3 separate regions of the Homo sapiens genome follow, and regions 1 and 2 are each linked to region 3. Evidence: promoter capture Hi-C in 16 types of primary human blood cells and fetal thymus (Javierre and others, 2016). All regions are on one chromosome and are shown on one strand. Each heading gives the region's core, a stretch centred on a gene start or on the middle of the fragment in contact. The rest is flanking DNA. Distances are from core to core; before and after follow the strand shown. Region 1 overlaps MTMR1 (myotubularin related protein 1). Region 2 has its middle 76 kb from the start of MIR4330. Region 3 holds the start of CD99L2 (CD99 molecule like 2).

Region 1 (2,700 bases), core at 175-2,674, 150 kb before region 3:
AATATAAGCAGAACATTAGAAACAACCAATTTCACACCAAAAGTTACTTGTCTTTGCAAATGGTTTTTATCAATCATCTTGTCCACTAGGTCCAAACCAAGGCCCTACTCCTCTATAGATTCTGCTGCTTTTGCTCCCCTTCAAAAGGTTAAGGAAGTACAGTCTCCTGCTGAGCAGTTCATCTAAGATTTGGCCAGATGTTAGAAATGAGGATGGGAATGAACTGCTAGTACATGGGATTAGACCAGGCAATCCAGGAATCTCCACACTCTGCCCCAGTCCAGAGCCTCTCCCACCCAAGGTCACTGAGGGAAATGAGTGTCCAAGAACCAATGGCATAGAGGAAGCTGCATAGCATTTTGCTATTAGCTGGTGCATCGTTCCCAAACCCCAATGCACAGGGCCCTGGTAAAGAAGGGAGCCATCTAGGGATCCCCTTCCCTTGAGCTGGTCAGGCCCTTTGGCTTCAGTTCAAAGTAGGCCATAAGGCCATAGTTCCTGCACTGTTTTGTTGTCGTTGTTTTCCCCCTCATCTCCAACATCTAAACCTGAGTTTGGTCTCCTATCCTTGTGATAAGAGACAGTGCCAGGGCAATGGACCTGGAACCAGAGAGAGAGGCAAAAGAGAGTAGTTTCCCCAGTGCCTGCTGCGCAACCTGGCTGAGGGTGGGGCTATGGGGTACAGAACAAGTTAGGGGGCTGAGATCCAGGGTCTGAGCCTTCTCTTGCTAGTCATTCACCAGGAGCTCTGGCCTTGGCTGCTTCAGTCACGGGGAAGGGAAGCAGCCAGGACACTGCCGGTGATCTGCGGGGATGCTACCAATAGCCCTGCTGCTCTTGATTGATCCTCCCGCAGCCTTATCACCATCAGCCCAGGGCCTTTTCAGAGGACATCTGCCTCCCTACTGCAGAAAGTCTGTGAAATACTAGGCCTGTTTCCCCACTGAGAGCTACTGTTACTGATGGCAGTGTGTGTTGGGGCAGAAGGAAGGTTGATAGTCATGATGCTGCCTGTGCTGTCCGGCTCCCCAGCAGCTCTGCCCTGAGGAGGACCTGGAGAACTCAGAAGATGGCTCTCCACCTTGAGTGCACACAGCCAGCCCCTGGGAACCTTCTTCCTGTGAGCCTGGAGACAGGCTTAGGTGTGTGTAAAAGTTCCCCAGGTGATTCAGATGTGCAAATGAGTTTGACAACCAGTGATCTAGCTTAGTGCTCCAAATGTGGTCCTGAGAACTTGTTAGAGACACCAAACTTCAGCCTCACTGATGACCTTCCAGTGCTCTGGGTGTGGGGCCCAGCCCTCTGGTTCCACAAGCCCTTCTGGGGGCTGATGGATGCTCAACTTGGAGACCATTGCTGTAGACTAACATTGCTCAAACCTTAATGAGCACACAAGTCCCCTGGGACTCTTATTGAAATGCAGATTCTGATTCAGTGGGGCTGAGGCAGAGCCTGAGATGCCACATTTCTGATAAGCTCTCAGGTGATGCCATCGGGTCACAGATCACATTTTCAGTGGCAAGGGAGCACAGAGACATACCTCTAGAAATAAGGAACAAAGGGGAGGGAGTCTGAATAGCCAAAGTAGATTTCATGGAGTCCTCAGGCCCTCACTTAGAAATTAACACTGACTTTTACACCCAGCTTCAACAAACTGATTGGGGTCTCACATGATCTGATGGCCAGGTCACAGGTGATTAAAGATAGCCTGTTAGAGAGCTGGCCTGGGTAAGAGGGGCTGGTCCCAGAGGTAGGTGTGCTGATGGTGCATGTGAAAGGTAGCAGCAAACACACTCCAGAAGCATGAAGACTGGCCTGAAGCCTTACTGTTTTATAGAGCCAGGCACTGTTGCTATTTGTGTTGATGCTGAGCCAATAAGAAAGTTAAATGATTGTCATGTTCAGGTTAGGACAAGAAAGTATGAAACACATTTTAGAAAAATTGCATAAAAAGGTTGAACACAAAAAATAATTGCAGTGCTTCTAAAGGGATGAGCACCATTTCGGTGGATGTGAAATAGCTTATTCCTCCCAAATGTGGATTTTTAAACATCTTCAAACTGACCTCCATTCTTTATACTGCTTAGTGCCTGTTTTCATGTCTAAGCCATGTCATTTTTGTGCTTTTATTGGATTTTAAGAAAAGGGGTTTGAATTAGAAGATTTCAGATGCTTCTCACAGCTCTAAGATTCTGTCTGTGAAATGTGTGTATAATTAATTTCTTTTAAAATTACATTGTTAATGCATTAGCACAGACATCCATGACTAGTCTTTATCAGTTCATTAAGAAATGAATGAGATATATAGCAGGTATAAGATGCAGTCATAGGAAAGATTATTTTTAGGTTGCCTACTGTTAAGTAAGCTATGCAGTGTAAAATTGTCAGAAATATCAGAATAAAATGAACTAGTCTGTATGTGAACAAAGAAACTAAGGGAAAAATAATTGAGGGACTCTTTAGAGTCCCAAAGACACTCAATAATATCCATAGTTTAATACAATCCTTACTCCTCTGGGTAGGTTTAATAGTCATTGATATTTTTGTTCCTCAAGAGGTGCAGAATTGGGGCCAGGTGTGGTGGCTCACACCTATAATCTCAGCGACTCAGGAGGCTGAGGTAGAAGGATCGCTTGAGGCCAGGAATTCAAGACCAGCCTGGGCAACATAGTGAGACACCCCATCTCTTCAAAAAAAAAA
Region 2 (2,700 bases), core at 175-2,674, 190 kb after region 3:
ACTTGTCCACCACACCAGTGCTTTAGGGGGAGTCATTAGTAACTCTTGATCTGATCTTTCAATGCTCTCTTCTGGACCTTCACTTCCCAGCTCTTCCCACCCTTTTGCAAAGTCGGATTTCCCAGAATCCCCACAGTGGCTCTGCTTTCCTGACTGAACTATGACTGGTACAGTTATGGCTAGGTTCCTCTTGGACACCAAAGTCACCCAAAAGGATAGTCCAGCTTTGGAGTAGGAGGAAGACAGTAAACTAAATCTCCAGTGACTGAGGCGCCATGACTAGGAGGTCATTAGATGATGGCAACCAGGAGGGAAATAGAGTGGTGGAACCAACTAGATAGACTGAGTGGCTAAAAATTAGGGGGTTTTACATGCAGGTGGCAGAACAGTGGCCTGAGCAAAGCACTATAGAATGAGGAGAATGCTTACCCTTCTCCTACTCTTAGGTGAGGGGCTCCCAAGATACGCGGGTGAAAGCCAGGGCTCAGAATGAGAAGGTAGAGAAAGACTCCAGTTAAGAAAGCCAGACTAGAGTTTGATTTTATAGACTAGGGGTGGTTGAACAGTGCAGTGGCTGAACACCACTGTGCTGTTCATGTGTATGTGAAACAGCCACATACACAAGTGAGCTTGAGAGAATTGTTTGCCTCCTCTGTGCCTCAATGTCCCCATCAGTGCAATGAGACCATGATAGTACCTACCTTATAGGACTACTGAGGAAATTAAAGGAGTTAATGCATGCAAAGTGCAAAGAACAATACTCCCTTAAAGTAGTGCTTAACAAGTAATACATACTCACTGAAGTTTTTTTTTTTTTTTCATTTGGCCCTTATCAAAACTCTGAGGTGTCAGCAAGGTAGGGATTATTGCCCCCAGTTGAAGAATGTGATACCCTGAGAGGTTATGGAGTTTTCCAAGAATCACACTTAGGAATAGAGTTCAGACAAGTCCCTGGTCTCCTAACTTGCTGGCCAACACATTTTCTACCACTGCTCCCTGCATTAGGAGTTCTGAGAAATGGTGAGTGAACAGGTCAGATGATGAGTAGTGTTGCATAAGCCAGGAAATTCTTCTCATCAAATCATGCCTTCACAGAGCCCTCAGTTATAGCCACCCCACCTAACAGTCACCCAGTCTTTACCATCAGCCCCTTCAAGCTGGGGTTCATCCTTTAATTGTCTCTGATTCCAGGTCCCTCCGCTGTTGGTCCTCAGAGCTGGTGGAAGATTGAATCTGCCCTTACCTGACCTAGTACATCCTACTGAGTTCCTGTTGAGCTTAATGTTCAGACAAACTAGTGATCTGATTAGCCCCAGTGTCTCCTGCTCTGGTTAGCCCCCTGCTGCTCTAATAGAGGAGGAGGGAGATTAAATGAGCAATGATGGTGAGGTGGTGGAGCTGCTGAAGTGTGTTTATAGATGGATTTTTAATATAAAAAATAATGACAATTGGCACTGGCAATTAATATATAATGAAGGCCCAGTAGCTGGAGCTGCTGATAAGAGGATAATAAATTGAAGTGTGAGAAACCCCCAAACCAATAGAGTAAATATCTGGAAATATTCATACAACCAGTAACTATGCGCTTTCCTTTGCCATTGGTTAGGGTGATCCAAGAGGGGAGCAGACAAGCAGATAGCAGGAATTACCCTAATATCATGAAGGGCAGGGCAGAGTGGGATCCTTTTAGCAGGTGAAAGCAGGGTTCTTGGAAAATTAGCAAACAGTGGTGGCAAAAGCATCAGAGAAAGGAGCCTGACTCACAGGCCTGGGTAGTGAAGGCTAGGAGGATGAGCAGGGCTCAGGGAGGTTACTGCTATGATGACAATATTCCAGGGAAGAAAATCTGAAAAAAAAATCATTCCAATGGGTTCAGGAATCTGAAATATCATCTCGCTGTAGCTCTGACTGCATTTTAAAAAATAACAGTTTTATTGAGAAATAATTCACACACCGCAAAATTCACTCTTCCAAAGGGTACAATCCAGTGGTTTCTAAAGTACATTCACAGTTGTGCAACCATCACCACTATCAATTTTGGAACATTTTCTTTTTTTTAACCACTTTATTGAGGTATATTGCATTAAAAGTTGTGCATATTTAATGTGTACATCTCAAGGAGTTTGGGGATAAGTATACGCCTGTGAAACCATCACCATTATCAAGGCCATAAATATTTCCATCACCTCCCACTGTTTCCTCCTGCCCTCTTTATTATTGTTTTTGGGTGTGTGTTAACAACACTTCATAAGATCTAGTCTCTTACAGCATAGTATAGTAGACCTTCAGAACTTATTTATCTTGCATAACTAAAACATTGTACCATTTGACCATCACTTCCCTATTTCTCTCTTCCCCCTTGTCTTTATCTGCCTGACTTATTTTACTTAACAAAATGCCCTCCAGGTTCATCCATGTTGTTGCAAATGTCAGGATTTCCTTCTTTTTTTAAAGGCTGAATAATATTCCACTGTACGTATGTACTAGACTTCCTTTATCCATTCATCCATCCATAGACATTTAGGTTGTTTCCATATCTTGGCTATTGTGAATAATGCTGCAGTGAACACAGGGGCACCAATATCTCTACAACATACTGATTTTCACTCTCTTGTTTGCGGTATTTTGTTTTGTTTTGTAGTTAGTTAGAGATGGGGTCTTGGTCTGTCACCCAAGCTAAAGTGCAGAGGTCCAATCATA
Region 3 (2,700 bases), core at 118-2,617:
GAAGACAGTCTCAATTTTGTTCACTACCGCATCATCAGTTCCTAGAACAGAGCCTGGCACCTCTGCAGAATGTTAAATGGCTCTTCGTGAATCAACTCCAGGTGGGTTGCCCACATGAAAAACATTTCTGCATCTTTTGCAAAAGTGGCTTGGCTAGTACCATCCACTGTTTTCCAGTGTTCCTTTATGTGACATAAATCTTACTAGAACTCAGTACTAGGACAAAGTGTGTGTGTGTGTGTGTGTGTGTGTGTGTTTCCTGAGCTCACATATTTTCCACCAGCTGGGTTCGCTTCTATTGTCAGGAAGCTTGGAGCATAATTCACGTTCAATTACAGTGTTTCCCTTAATCCCTTTTTCTGATGGGGACATAGGATATAAATAAGTGTAAGAAGATTCTGTTGGTACATGTTTAAGACCCTATTTTTAACCACAGACTGCATTTATTCTACTAAGATGCTTCTCAAACTTGAATGTGCCAGAGAATCACCCGCGGATCTAGTTGAAATGCAGAATCAGACTCAGTAGGTCGGGGGCGGGGCGTGAGATGCTGCAGTTCTTACAAGCTCCCAGGTGATGCCTATGCGGCTGGGCCCTGGACCACATTTTGAGTAGCAGAGGGTCTAAGAAACGTGCTTCCTTGATTCAGCGGGATTTCTCTCTCCTGCTCCTTGGCAAAACATGACCAAAGTCTCAAAAACTGAAGCGGACGGCAGAAGCACCTAGAGAGCTGGTTAGACCTACGCCTCGCTGACCCCCCCCCCCCCCCCCCACAGCCCATGCCCGCTGTGATCCCGATGAAAGGGGCTAGGAATCCACCTAGGAAGTTCCCCAGGTGCTTCTGCTGTCGGTGGCCTCGCAGCAAATTTCGAAAATGACTGCTCTCTTCAAGGTTTTCTCAAAGGTAAACTCTTGGGGACAGCTGTTGTCACCAGTGGTACACCTGCTCGTTCAGGATTTTAGGGGGCCCATCCCGCTGTTTCCAGCCCAGCGTCAGGAGGGGACCCACCCCTCCTCTCCGGCTACTCCGACCGCGGCGGAGTCAACCCCCACGGGCCCGGGGCTCGGACCCCCGCCGCTCCGCCTCGCACAGCCGGGCCGGCCGGTGGCAGCCACCGCAGGCCCGAGAGGCGGGGACCGTGCCGCTCATGCGCAGAGCGACCCCTGGGCCCACAAGGCGGGGTCCCCGCGCGGTCCCCGCGCGCCCCCCGCCCGCCTTACCTCGCTGGACCAGGGTGGCCAAGGAGAAAGCGAGGCAGACAAGGAACGCCGAGCGCCAGGCCACCATGGCTGGGAGCAGGCGGAGGGCCCCGGAGGAGCACAGTTAGCGCGAGAGCGCCCGAAGGGGAGGCCGAGGAGGAGCGGGAGGAGGAGCCCCGCCGCCTCTGCAGGGTCCCGCCCAAAGCCCGCGCGCGCGCGCGGCGCGGCCCCGGGAAGATGGAGGTCGGGCGCGCTAGAGAGCCGGCGCCTGAGGGCGCCTGGGCTGGGGTTAGGCCGGGGGGCGGGGCGAGGCTGCAGTATCGGGGGCGGGGCCGCGTTCTGGAGGCGGGGCTCCGGGCGAGGGGCGTGGCCTGCGGGCACCCGGTGGGTGGGGAGGCCTGGGTTGGGTTGGGCTGGGTCCAGCGGCAGCGCGCGGTCCGCAGACCCTGTCCCACCTCGGTCCTCGAGACCGAAGTCTCGGAGGTGGCCCCGCGGACCTGGAGCAGTGAGTCACCAGTGCCGGGGAGCGGGAGGCGGCAGCGCCGGTGGGCGCCGATTTCCTCCCGGGTGACCTTGAGAAGGGCTCTTCCCCTTCTGGCCTTGGTGTTCTCCCGGTGAAGGGTTGTTCCCTTGGGGCCCCTCCAGACACCGTCCAGCACGGAGCCCCGCACTCTGTCCCCACCCGCTGTTCCCTGCAGGAGTGAAACCCTGGCCGGAGACTGAAGAAAAGGACCGTTTTCGTGACTGGCTGCGGTCAACAAGCAGTGACACGTCTCGAGAAAACGAGGCCGGGGGCGCCCGGGTGGGCGACAGGGGAGGATGGGGGCGTCCCGGAGCCGAAGCGCCGCGGGCTCGGGAGACTGGGGGTAGGGACTGGGTCAGCTCTCCCGAGGCTTTGATGAATGCGCTGAAAGTGCAAGTTCATATCTGCAGAGTCGATCTCAAAAACGTGCTTAATGACCGACAAACGCGCTGCAGTCCTTTCCCATGAACCCCCGCAAACGGAGTCCGTCTCCCAGACCCGAAGAAATCAGATTCCGATACGATACTGTGCCGACCAGCAAAATGCCCGCTGCAGCAGTTGATGGGAACGCTCCCTAGAAGAGCCCCAGCTGCAACCGGCTCTCGAAGACAAAGAGGAAGCGCTACTGCTCTCCGGAGTGGTAGCGTGAGCCTGTCCCTGCCATTATGCGGCACCGGCTGCCCAGGGCCACATCCTCCTTAGAGGGCGGCTACTACCACCTCCCCTCAATATCCATTCGGCAGCTTTCCTGTGCCCCCAACCCAGCCCTCGCTGCCATAGGCACCCCCCTCAGTGGCTCCCACCAACCCCTAAGGAACAGTGGGGTGTGGGGTCTCCCTGAGATGGAGCCGAAATCTCCCGTGTGGCTTACATCCATTGCCCTGAATCTTAGGGCTGCAGAAACAAAACAGCATATGAGGAGTGGATCTTCCCAGGCTCAGGGCATTAATTACTCTATGAATGGAACATTATTCCAT

What was found. Contacts are between HindIII fragments. The CHiCAGO score rates a contact against its expected background, and 5 or more counts as called.
Region 1: a contact is called between a fragment that was not itself captured here and the fragment with the promoter of CD99L2 in region 3, in 1 of 17 cell types (monocytes). The highest score is 5.5, in monocytes.
Region 2: a contact is called between a fragment that was not itself captured here and the fragment with the promoter of CD99L2 in region 3, in 1 of 17 cell types (M2 macrophages). The highest score is 5.3, in M2 macrophages.

The regions. Positions count from the first base shown.
Region 1 is chrX:150,744,598-150,747,297 of GRCh38, forward strand. All of the region lies in intron 13 of MTMR1 (myotubularin related protein 1), which reads left to right. Among named protein-coding and RNA genes, the nearest start is that of MTMR1, 53 kb to the left of the region's middle. The HindIII fragment of the contact is 4,726 bases long and covers 1-2,700 here.
Region 2 is chrX:151,090,980-151,093,679 of GRCh38, forward strand. No RefSeq gene overlaps it. Among named protein-coding and RNA genes, the nearest start is that of MIR4330, 76 kb to the right of the region's middle. The HindIII fragment of the contact is 8,072 bases long and covers 1-2,700 here.
Region 3 is chrX:150,897,301-150,900,000 of GRCh38, forward strand. It overlaps CD99L2 (CD99 molecule like 2), which reads right to left and starts at 1,368. Exons shown (of 11, transcript NM_031462.4): 1 at 1,222-1,368. The coding sequence starts at 1,288. RefSeq lists a silencer at 1,043-1,652. The HindIII fragment of the contact is 7,642 bases long and covers 308-2,700 here.